3 separate regions of the Homo sapiens genome follow, and regions 1 and 3 are each linked to region 2. The links are contacts of gene promoters, found by promoter capture Hi-C in blood cells and fetal thymus (Javierre and others, 2016). All regions are on one chromosome and are shown on one strand. The core of a region is centred on a gene start or on the middle of the fragment in contact, and the rest is flanking DNA. Distances in the headings are between cores, read along the strand shown.

Evidence for each region. Contacts are between HindIII fragments. The CHiCAGO score rates a contact against its expected background, and 5 or more counts as called.
Region 1: a fragment that was not itself captured here is called in contact with the fragment with the promoter of ANKRD10 in region 2 in 1 of 17 cell types (total B cells); the score reaches 5.4 in total B cells.
Region 3: a fragment that was not itself captured here is called in contact with the fragment with the promoter of ANKRD10 in region 2 in 1 of 17 cell types (naive CD8 T cells); the score reaches 5.3 in naive CD8 T cells.

Annotation. Positions count from the first base shown.
Region 1 is chr13:109,788,085-109,791,747 of GRCh38, forward strand. It overlaps LOC124903211 (WAS/WASL-interacting protein family member 1-like), which reads left to right. Exons shown (of 2, transcript XM_047430835.1): 2 at 1-2,912. Among named protein-coding and RNA genes, the nearest start is that of IRS2, 3.3 kb to the left of the region's middle. The HindIII fragment of the contact is 176 bases long and covers 1,336-1,511 here.
Region 2 is chr13:110,913,426-110,917,133 of GRCh38, forward strand. It overlaps ANKRD10 (ankyrin repeat domain 10), which reads right to left and starts at 1,644. Exons shown (of 6, transcript NM_017664.4): 1 at 1,300-1,644. The coding sequence starts at 1,509. RefSeq lists enhancers at 256-932, 656-785, 2,284-2,958 and silencers at 896-1,265, 1,536-2,195, 2,326-2,485. The HindIII fragment of the contact is 15,206 bases long and covers 1-3,708 here.
Region 3 is chr13:112,590,173-112,593,427 of GRCh38, forward strand. It overlaps LOC124903251 (a long non-coding RNA gene), which reads left to right. Exons shown (of 2, transcript XR_007063945.1): 2 at 1-3,255. It also overlaps a transcript of TUBGCP3 not described here. Among named protein-coding and RNA genes, the nearest start is that of TUBGCP3, 3.6 kb to the left of the region's middle. The HindIII fragment of the contact is 1,860 bases long and covers 1,022-2,881 here.

The DNA.
Region 1 (3,663 bases), core at 174-2,673, 1.1 Mb before region 2:
AATAATTTACAGCAATAATTTATCTTATAATATTGGTTATTGTTTTTAAGTCCCGGATGTTTACTTTTGGATGTCCTCTATAATTCATAGAAGTATCTTAAAAGTAATAAAATCTTAATCTAAGAGAAAATAAGTGTAATTTTTGAAAGAGTGATATATATTTTAATATGTTTTTGTAACATGTGACTTGAAGATTGTGTTGGCTAATTTTATGTGCCAAGAGAGCCCTGACTAGTACAAAGATTATAGCGTTTTTATTTTTAGCATGTATACAGTTAGGATTATTGATCAGTAGCCTGAATTTGGGAAGAATAATCATTGTGGCAAATATCACCCAGTGTGCCTCAAAAAGGTGTGTTTAAAGTTGATCTTCCATTTTTAAATCATACCTTAAAAAAAAATACCTCAAGAAATGCCATTTTAAGTCTGTGCACCTATGTGTGCATGTGTGCGTGTTTGTTTATATAATAGATTGTGTGATTGTGTGTGTATAGGTATGTGTGTATGATTGTGTGTGTTGGGGGCGCCACCTTTATGAACATTATGCTTCGGCGTTCTTTTTAGATCTTGTTACCTTTTCTTACGTTCACAAATGTTGCCTAGCAATATGTCTAGTCAGGAAAGATGAAGGGATTCTTATCTTGGTGCTTGAAGAAAATGTGGTGTAGTTTTATTGGCTTTGTGATCACTTACATCCCACTTTTATGAGGATGTAAATGGGCCACCTCTATGTTCCTGTATGTTGCCAGCCATCAGTAGACAATGCTAAAGGAACCACCACTTTTAAACATCATGTGATGGTTTCTTCTGAGAAAGTATATTTTGCAATCTTTTTCTTTTTCATGTTGACTTTTATTATGCAGTTGCATTTTCATATCCGTATTGAACATTTACTTGCTGTGCCTGTCACACGCTAGCAGGTGTCATCTTTTCCTGTTTGCTTGTTTCTTGGGGCCATCCTAGTGTTAAAGGCCAGTGTTTTTAAGGTGTCAGCAGCTCTGGATTGGCAGTTAGCACTTTCCCCATGTACTGCCTCAGTTACCAGACTGGGGACAAAAGAGAGAAGGTTAAAGAATTATCACCTATGTCCGTGGTATTCTGTCATAGAGAGTATAAATTTCCTACAGCAAACTGGAAATTAATTGCAATTCTGCAGTTAGAACCTCCAAATACAAATGTGGATGATACAATTTCAATTCTCATTGAGAGTCAGCCCATGAAACAAACCAACAGTAAGAAACTCTGTAATTAGAAGTATCCCAGTCCTCTTCCTCAACCGAGGAACTTGTTTTCTTTCCCCCTTTCTATTGCCAGATAAGCTATTTATTTATTTAAAGCTTGTTCTACACCTTGTGATTTTCCAACTGTTCTTCCATACTTTTTCAACAAAAGTCAGCTAATAACATCTGCCAACATGCTCTGCACGCAGGACTGGCTGGGGCTGGCATGGCCTCTTGCCAGCAAACAGCCTGGTTGAAATTTTTTCTCATGGTCCAAGATCTTTCCTTGGAAGCTTTCTTTCCTTTCACAGCTAATAAAATGGCCATATCTTTCAGCAGGGAGTTTTTTCTGTTTGTTTGTTTTTTCTATTTTTAACAGAATCATATACAATAATGATTATTTTATTAGAAGTCTTCTGAAATAATTACTTTTCAAGAAAGAATCAATTATATAAAAGTGTAGAGATTTAAAAATATGTTACAGGTTCACAATACAAATACTAGTAGCACTACCAATAATGAACATCACTAATTATTTTCTTTGTTTCATATAGGAAAGGCAAGTATGGGAGGAGAAAGGTGAATAGCATTTTATTGCTTGTGAAATTTTCTTTCTTTTTTTAGTTCTTTGCCCTGTAGGTGTTTGACAGTATTTTGTATTTAGGTGAGCTCAATCTAAAAACTAAGCAGATTAAGTGGAATGCTATATAACTAGTTAGAATAGCTTTAATTTAAAAGGTATTTTAAGAGGGAAAGATTTTTAACTTCACAGGTTTCTGTCAAAGGATATATTTAATCTTTAAAATGAGTGGCACCATTTCATTATATTTCATTTTATTAGATAATGTTGTTCAGTAGCTCATTTGAGAAATTCCATTCCTCTGATGAACGAACTGTGGACAGACTTTTCCTCATCTAGGGTTTATAAGGAAACTTCTTGCACTTTACCAGCAAATTTATTTGCTAATGTTTCAACTGAAATTTCACAAGAGTTTTGTAACATGCTAACTCTGTGTATGGGCAACAGAATGACTTACATGAGAGAATATAACTGCTGTTTGGATCATTTGCTATGTATGGCATTGCAAACATTTAAAGTATCAGGATTTGTTAATGGAATTGATCAGCCCCTTGGAAATTATAAAGGCTTTCTACTTGTGTGTTTATTATTCTTGTTAAAAATATGGATCAGTCTCTTTCCTAAATGTTCATTTTATGAGGGAGGATTTTCTAAAATAAATGATTATTTAATGTGCATATATGATAGAACAAACTACTATAACTTTTTTAAAGTCTTATCAATTGAATTAATACTGTTTAGAAAAATATGTTGTAGTTACAAATGCAGCTAATCCAGTATTCTCAACATTTTTTCATTATAAATATAATTATGTTGAAGAAATACATAAATGCCCAATTAAAAAGTGACTGCGGTTAGGAGTTGAAAATATTTATTAATATGCCTCTGGATTTTGTTCTGTTTGAATTTTGAGAATGTGTTTCTAGATTTAAGAAGCAACACAAGCTTTTTTTCCCAGAAGGCTTCCTATTATTGAAATGGAAATTATACATTAATGACTGTATAACACTAGTAGATATTTTTAAAATGCAAGAGCATCTTCTTAGATCATTACTTTTCCTTGGAATGCTTGGCCCCTGTAATATAATACACCGGTATTTTGCATGATGAAATTGATGTCCTGTGTGTTGCTTCATGTTGCTATCCTAGCTGCCGATTAAAACGTTTTTTTTTTTTCATGCCAGAGCAGAACAAAATTGTCTGCTTCTCAATCTGCACATCATAAGCAGATGACATTAAAAATGTCTGTAAGATGACACAGCTATATTTTCTGGGAGAGGGCGGGAGGATGCTCAGCGAGGGTGGCCCGGAGTGTCCTTGTACAGAGTACAGATGTTATGAAGTGGGGAAGACCAGCCTGTGTTCATTGATTCACCTATTGATTCCAGGAGCAAGCTCACCCTGTTTCATACACTGCTCAGGAGGTAAACAGGAGGAAGGGAGCCAGCCTGGCTTTTTTGCCACATGCTCTGCTGTTTGGTAGAACTGTATTATAGTCAGAAACCTTCCGCTTTTCTGCAGTTGTTTGCATGCTGTTTCCAAGGCTAGCCCTCTGAGTCTGTTTTCTAGAGTTGTTTTGAAATTCAACCTAAAGATAACAGAGGAAATGTGACCCTCTCTTGTGAATGCTGCCACCAACTGGCAATGTTTCTTCCCAAGGCAGATTCAGGGTTCTGGCATGAGTTGTCACAAATACAGTGGTGGTTGCTTTGAGAGAAAGGTGCTTACAACCTGACATAAATTTGCTTTGCATGAAACTTTAAGGAAATTAATAGAAGTAAGATTAAACAAAGAAATTTTGATAGTGAGTGACTAAGAGCAATATCAGATGACAAATGAGGGAAGAGAACATTAATAAGTGCA
Region 2 (3,708 bases), core at 394-2,893:
GGTACTACGGTTGCACAACTTCAGAGACAGTGCCACAGGAACCTAACAGCCCTTGAGGACTGATTAACTTGCTTGTCCCACCCCGATCGTCAAAACTCCTTTTCATTTCTTTTATTGAAAGAAAAGTGACTTTTCCACTTTAAAAGAATCAGAAACTGCTTTCCAAAAGACACAGCTGCTTTGTGAATGTAGCACCAGGGGCAGCAAGGTAAACCGCAACTTCATCAGCTGGTAACGACATTACCAGGGCCAGGCCTTCTTAAAGTAACTTATTTCACATTACCTCTCACATATTTCTGCAAAACCATTTAACCCCATCTCATCACTTACGAGAAAAACACTATACACATCCCTGAATTTCAGTGAATTAAGAAATATTAATTAAAACCAGTCACTTCTGAAATGCACGGTGAAATCTTATTTAAGATTTCTGAGAGCAAGTACCCCAACGACTTCACAGATGAGGAAACGGTAGCTATCCAACCTTTTAAAACCTTAAAGCAGCACTGTGTTCCCCCAGAATTTTCAGTTTAAGAAAAAAGAGGGGAACGTAAAGCCTCCACGGGAAGAGAATTCTGCTTAATTTAACCACTTCTGCAGTAATTTAGATCCAAGATAAACACAGCCGTCACTAATTTTGCTGAAGCGGGGCCAGCTACAAGCCTTAAAGCAAACCCAGAAGCTGGAGAGCCGGCCTCCATCCCACACAGCTGCCGGGGCCTTCCAGTCCCGCCGGGGCGCTTGCTCCTCGGCTGAGCTCGTCCGCAGCGCGGCCCTCGGCTACTGGCGAGGCTGTGCGGAACCAGAAGGTCGACCGCGCCCGGGCATTCCCCGCGCGCCTCTGACCCCAGCTCGGCTCCCCGGAAGCCGCCTGGGCGACTTCGCGGCCTAATACCCGGCTCTGCGAAATCGCTCGCGCCTCCGGCCCGGCCTGGAGGGCCCCGCACCATCCGCGCGCGCGCGCGCTCGCACAGGATCCGGCCAACAGGCGCCGGGACCCTTGGAGCCCGCCTTGTTAGAAACTTGCTACGCGCGCCGCCGCACATGCGCCCTAGGCCCCTCCGGACGCAGGCGCCACCGACCTCGCTTCCGCCCCGCGCCCCCCGGCTGCCCCGCCGCGACTCCGGGCCGCGAGCGCTGCCGCACAGGCGCCCTAGGCCCCTCGGGGCACAGGCGCCGTCGATCCCGCTTCCGCCCCGCGATCCCGGCACGCCCCACGTCCCCCGCACCTCAGACCCGCTTTCCCCGACTCCCACTGGACAGCCGGGGAAAATGGCGCCTTAAAGCGTTCGCACCCACCTTGCCGAAATGCGCGGCCCAGTGCACGGGCGTCCAGCCATAGAAGGAGTCCTCAGAGGCCAGGTGGGCGTGGGGTGTCTGCTGCAGCAGCGAGCAGAGCGTGGCCAGGTCCCCGTCGCGGCAGGCGCGGTGCAGCGGGAAACGGAGCGAGAGCAGCTCCTCGCTGGAGAAGCCCGCCTCTACGCCCGCGCCCGCTCCCGCCGCCGACATGGTCCGTCACCGGAGAGCGCGGGGCTCGCTGGCCTAGAGGACGCGTCGGGGAGGACTCGAGAAGCCGCCGCCGCAGCACAAAGGAACGAGACTAGCGCCGCGGTCGCGTCCCACAGGCTGCCGAGCGGAGCGCGCACAGAGGGGGCGGGGCGGGGCCTGGAGCGGCCGGGCTGGGGGCGGGGCCTGGCCCAGAGGACGCCTTGTGCAGCCGGGCAGGGGTCGGGGCCTGGAGCCGCGGACCTCTGGAGCCGCCGGGCAGGGGGCGGGGCTTGAGCCGGAGGCCGCCTGGAGCAGCCGGGCGGAGGGCGGGGCTTGGAGCTGCGGACGCCTGGAGCGGCCGGTAGGTGGCGGGGTCTAGCCTAGAGGATGCCTGGAGCAGCCGGGTAGGGAGCGGAGCCTGGACCAGAGGACGCCAGCAGCAGCCGATTAGGAGGCGGGGCATGGGGCTGTCGACGTCTGGAGCAGCCGGGCATTGGGCTTGGGCTAGAGGACGCCTGGGGCGGTGGGCGCCTGGAGTAGCCAGGCAGAGGGCGGGGCCTGGCTTGGGTCCACGCCTGGGGCGGCCGGGGGCGGGGCCTGGCTGGAATTGACGCGTGGAGCTCCGGTGGAGGGGGCGGGGCCTGGCTGGGCCGCTGCCTACAGCGGCTTCCGGGGCTTGGAGGTCACGGGGCTCGGAGGTCACGGGGCTCGGAGGTCACGGGGCTGGCTGTGTGGGGGGCTCAGGGGCGTAGAGTGGCCAAGCAGCGGTCTGAGCGGGTCCCGGGGCCTCCGGCGCGGTGGGTCTCGGCTGCGCCCCGGGTGCGGACCATGATGTTTCCAGCCTGGGAGCCGGTCCGGGCGGGGAATCCCGGCTGCCGGGGGCGCGGGTTGAGGCTCTGCGGGCCCGCGCCCAGAGCGGGTGGGAGTCACGGGTCTCCCGGAGGCCCAGTAGCGCGCGGTGAAGTTGTCCAGTAAAAATTTATGGAGCGCCTACGGGGAGCAGGGATTCTCGTTAAAATCTGGGAATCAGCAAGCCCTAGTTCCTTACAGAGCAGGACAGATTCCTCGGTTTTGTCCGAGGGACGCCTTCTTCGGAACCGAGTGCGGTGGGCTAGGACTATACGTTTGCAAGTTTAAGAGATAAGCGAGAAGACCAGACAGAGCAAACAATAAAAGGCTTTTTGTTGAGAACTGTATAAATGTAAGGGAGTACCAAATCCCCTATTTTGAATGACAGTATCACGGACTTTATTACATATGTAATTTTATTCTGATTATGAAAGCATCAGTAATTTCACTATTGAGGAATAACCACAATGTTTATGAATATTTCCTTTGCTTCTAAATATGCGGTCTTTTTAAATCATGTATTTTATTTCATTTGTATATATAGTTTTTCGCTGTGTAAACTTCCTTTTTGCAAAATTCTACGTCACAAATTGAACAAGGCAATTAGATGTCTAGGGAAGTACTGATGCACGAGAAAGCATATTGCAGCATTGGTTAATAAAACGAAAAAATAGAAACCTAAGATTTAACAAAGGGAAGTTGTTAACTAGTGGTGTAAACACTCAACACAGACATGTCTTCATACAGCAAACATTTGTTGAGTACAATGCTGAATGAAACACATTGAGAAACACTCTATAGTGGGGAAGTAGCAAATATTTCAATTCAGTGAGCAATTGCTAATGAATGGAAAATATGACACATAGAATCTATCTTCTCCCAGGGAGTTTGTAATCTGTTAGTGAAGCAGGAAAGAATAATCAAGCAATACTTTTTTGTTTGGACCAAAAGGGTGAGAATAGACTATAAACTCATTTCAGGTTTTGTTTACTCTAGAACGTAATCATTTTTCTTCTCACATGCCATGTTGATTTTAATCTAATCTCTTTAAAATATATCCCCCTGATTTCCATCTTTCTTAGGAGAGAGGTGTCCCATTTTGCGAAAGGACGTGAGTGTATCTTGTCCTCCATGTAATGAAAGGGAGGGATTACTTGCTAGGCTGCATTCTGGGAATGGTGAAACAGAGATGGTGGTAAGTCAAGGAATTTGTCCAAGGGCAAACTGCATGCCTGTGGCAGAGCTTAGAATAATATCCAGACCTAGGTTCCAACCCACTGTTAGATTTTTTTTAACTTTGGAATTTATTTTGCATAGAGTATTAAGGGCTAGGAAGATAAAATAGGTTATAGTGATAGGGTACTTCGTGTA
Region 3 (3,255 bases), core at 702-3,201, 1.7 Mb after region 2:
ACACTCTGTTAGCCAGAATGGTCTCGATCTCCTGACCTCGTGATGTGCCCGCCTCGGCCTCCCAAAGTGCTGGGATTACAGGCGTGAGCCACCGCGCCCGGTCCAGCCATCTTTCTTAACGTGCATACACGATGTGACTCACTGGAGCCCTGATAAGATTATTGATTTCTTGAGGAGAACAATGTTGTCGGAAACCTTCTCCAACTGTTGCTCACGGGTATACAGTCAGGGCTGTCTTCCCAGAATATAATGCAAGGAAACCTTGACCCAGTTCTCCATGTCATTTTCCTTTACCAGAAGGCCCTTTCGAGGTATGGCAACTAGATTTTTTCAGCTACCACCATCACAAAGATACAGGCACATCCTAGTGATGGTTTGTGTATTTTCTCATGGGTAGAAGCATTTCCATGCAGAAGAGCAGCAGCCTTGGCGGTAAGTAAAATTATCTTAGAGAAAATTATTCCGATTTGGGGAGTTCCTCAAGAACTTTATAGCAACAGAGGCACTCATTTCACTGCACAAATAATCCAGTTAGTATGCAAAATCTGGCCCATTTTCCAGCATTTCCATTGTGCCTATCACCCCAGTCATCTGGGTTAGTAGAATGCACAAGCAGAATAATCAAAACTCATTTGGCAAAATTAACTGAAGTTTTAAAACTCCCTTGACTGGAAGCTCTTTCTTGTTTTTGCTTCACCTAAGATCAGCCCTTATGGGTAAACACCAACTGTCTTCATCTGAAATTATAACGGACAGACCTATGAAATTGTCTCCAGGAAATTGTAAATCGATGATATTAAAAAGGGACAGGTTGTATTATTGCAGCAGCCTCATAAGGCACCTAAGTAAAAACTGTTATTTAGTAAAAGATTCTTTCCACAGTGAGCTCCAAGAAGCAAAAACTCAAGGAACACATACTTCAGCCAGGAGACTTTGTAGGAAACAGCATCCTTTAAAGGACTTTCTCCACCAAGGAGGAAGGAACCTTATCAGGGACTCCTAACCAACCCTTGTGCCACTAAGCTTAAAGGAGTTGATTCCTGGATACCTGCCACCCATGCAAGGAAAGCTGCTTTGTCAATTTGGACTTCATCTCAAATTGGTGATCTAAAACTAAAACTCTCCAGAACCAACAAGGATGAGAAGAAAACAACATGTGAGGCGATCAGCCTTCTCAAGACACCTGACCAGGCCTGTATCTAGACAAACCCTTAATATAATCATCGTCAGTAGATGAGGAAGGTCTTCCTTTACAAGTTCCCACCACACTTCCTTCTTTTTGTCCCTAGTTCTTCTGTTTTGTTGCTACCATCACCAGCCATTGCCCATGAAACAAACATCTTCTTGCAGTAGGCTTGGGCCTGTGCTAGTAAATTACAGGACAACACTCGTTAGGTGTGTGGCCTTGCGCCCCTTTCTGGTGGTTCTGGCCTACCATGGTGGCAGCTCCTCTTCAAGGACAAGAGTAGACAGAATATCAGAAATGTGTCTGTGTTTCTCAGGACAGTCATTGGTGCTTAGCACTAGTATGATGAAGGCAAGTGTGCATCACTGGCCTATGAATGATACTTTACAAAGCAAAAGCCATAGGAAGAGCTTTCCAGTAAAAGTCCACATACCTTAATGCTGGTACTACACCAGCTGAGAGATTAGACCACTCAATATCGGGATGGCATAACACAAACTTGGGATGGTTTCACCTGACTTACCCTCTCTTTGGGTCAACTTAGTTCACGTGCCCCTTTACATTGGGAACAAAAGAATCATATCAAAGATCCCTGGCCCAGGAGCACTGGAGATACGGGATGGAACCCAGAGAACAGTGCATCTACACCATTGTGTTACAGAGTCCTGGCTGGCATGCCACTGAGTGGGCATAGTGACCGGGTGTTTACTGGTTGGCTCCAGATGGAACATCTGGACTCTGTGATAATGACCTATGGCCATGGTTACCCCCAAGGTGGCCAGGACACCATTCTCTGCATTATGCCTGGACATAGGATGGAATAGTTCACAACCGACATAGATAGTAGATAAAACTAGGTAGTCTGAATAATTCAAAGTATGGACTTTGATTCATAATGCTTCAATACTGGTTCTTAAATGTAACAAACAACACACTTTTAATCTGTGCATTGTGAGGTGCTGAGCGAGAGGGGCCGGCTGCCAGGTGCCGGGTGGTGGGTGGGTCAAAGGCCAAACGCAGGTTCCACCAGGCAGGTGTCACTCCCGGCAGGAGTAGAAACCAGAGGCCTCACTGAGAGTGCCAGCCCCCACCCTGGTGTTTCATTTTCCCCCACGGCACTGGGTGAAGGTTAGGTGTGTCTGTGAAGACAGCAGTGAAGGGATACTGTCTCACTGCCCAGAGAGCCCCTAACAAAAGGTTTCTGCCATTCTATGGCCCTGGAGTCAGGGGAAGAGAGAGAGGGAGGCAGCTGAGAGTGGAAAAGTGCTGAATGCAAAGTCAGAGTGGGAAAAATGTCTTCCAGGCCCCCTGAAAAGGAGGCTTTGGCAGAGGTACCTAAGACAGGCCTCAGCCAAGGGACCCATGTGGTCTCGGAAGGGAGGTGCCTGGGTTGGGCACAGGGGATACCCAGGGCACCCAGGTCCTTCCCCGCAACAGCCTTCAGACACGGCAGTGCACTGGCCACACACCATGAGGCAGCCAGGTGGGGCCTTTGTCATCACCCGTGGTCAGACCTGAAAGATCCCACAGGGCATTTGGGCTGCAGCCAGCCAACTTTCCAGGCAGCATGTTGCATTCCAACTCTGTTTCAATAAAACTAGTTTCGAAAAAGAAAGAAACATTTCAAAATATTGACGGGATGCTGCTAAGTTTTGATCGTTGCATTAGAAAGAAAGAGATTAAAGGAATAGTTTAAGCTTCCGCACCAGGAATCTAGAAAAGGAAAACCAAATCAAGCTCAAACTAAGTAGAAGGAAGGGGAGTGAGATCAGAATGGATGCTGGGCGCGGTAGCTCACACCTGTAATCCCAGCACTTTGGGAGGCCAAAGTGGGTGGATCACCTGAGGTCAGGAGTTTGTAACAAGGCTGGCCAACATGGTAAAACCCCATCTCTACAAAAATACAAAAATTAGCTGGGCGTAGTTGTACGCACCTGTAATCCCAGCTGCTCAGGTGGCTGAGGCAAGAGAATCACTTGAACCCAGGAAGCAGAGGTTGCAGTGAGCCACGATGACACCACTGCTCTCCAGCCTGGGGGACAGAGAGAGAGACTTTATCTAAATTCCAA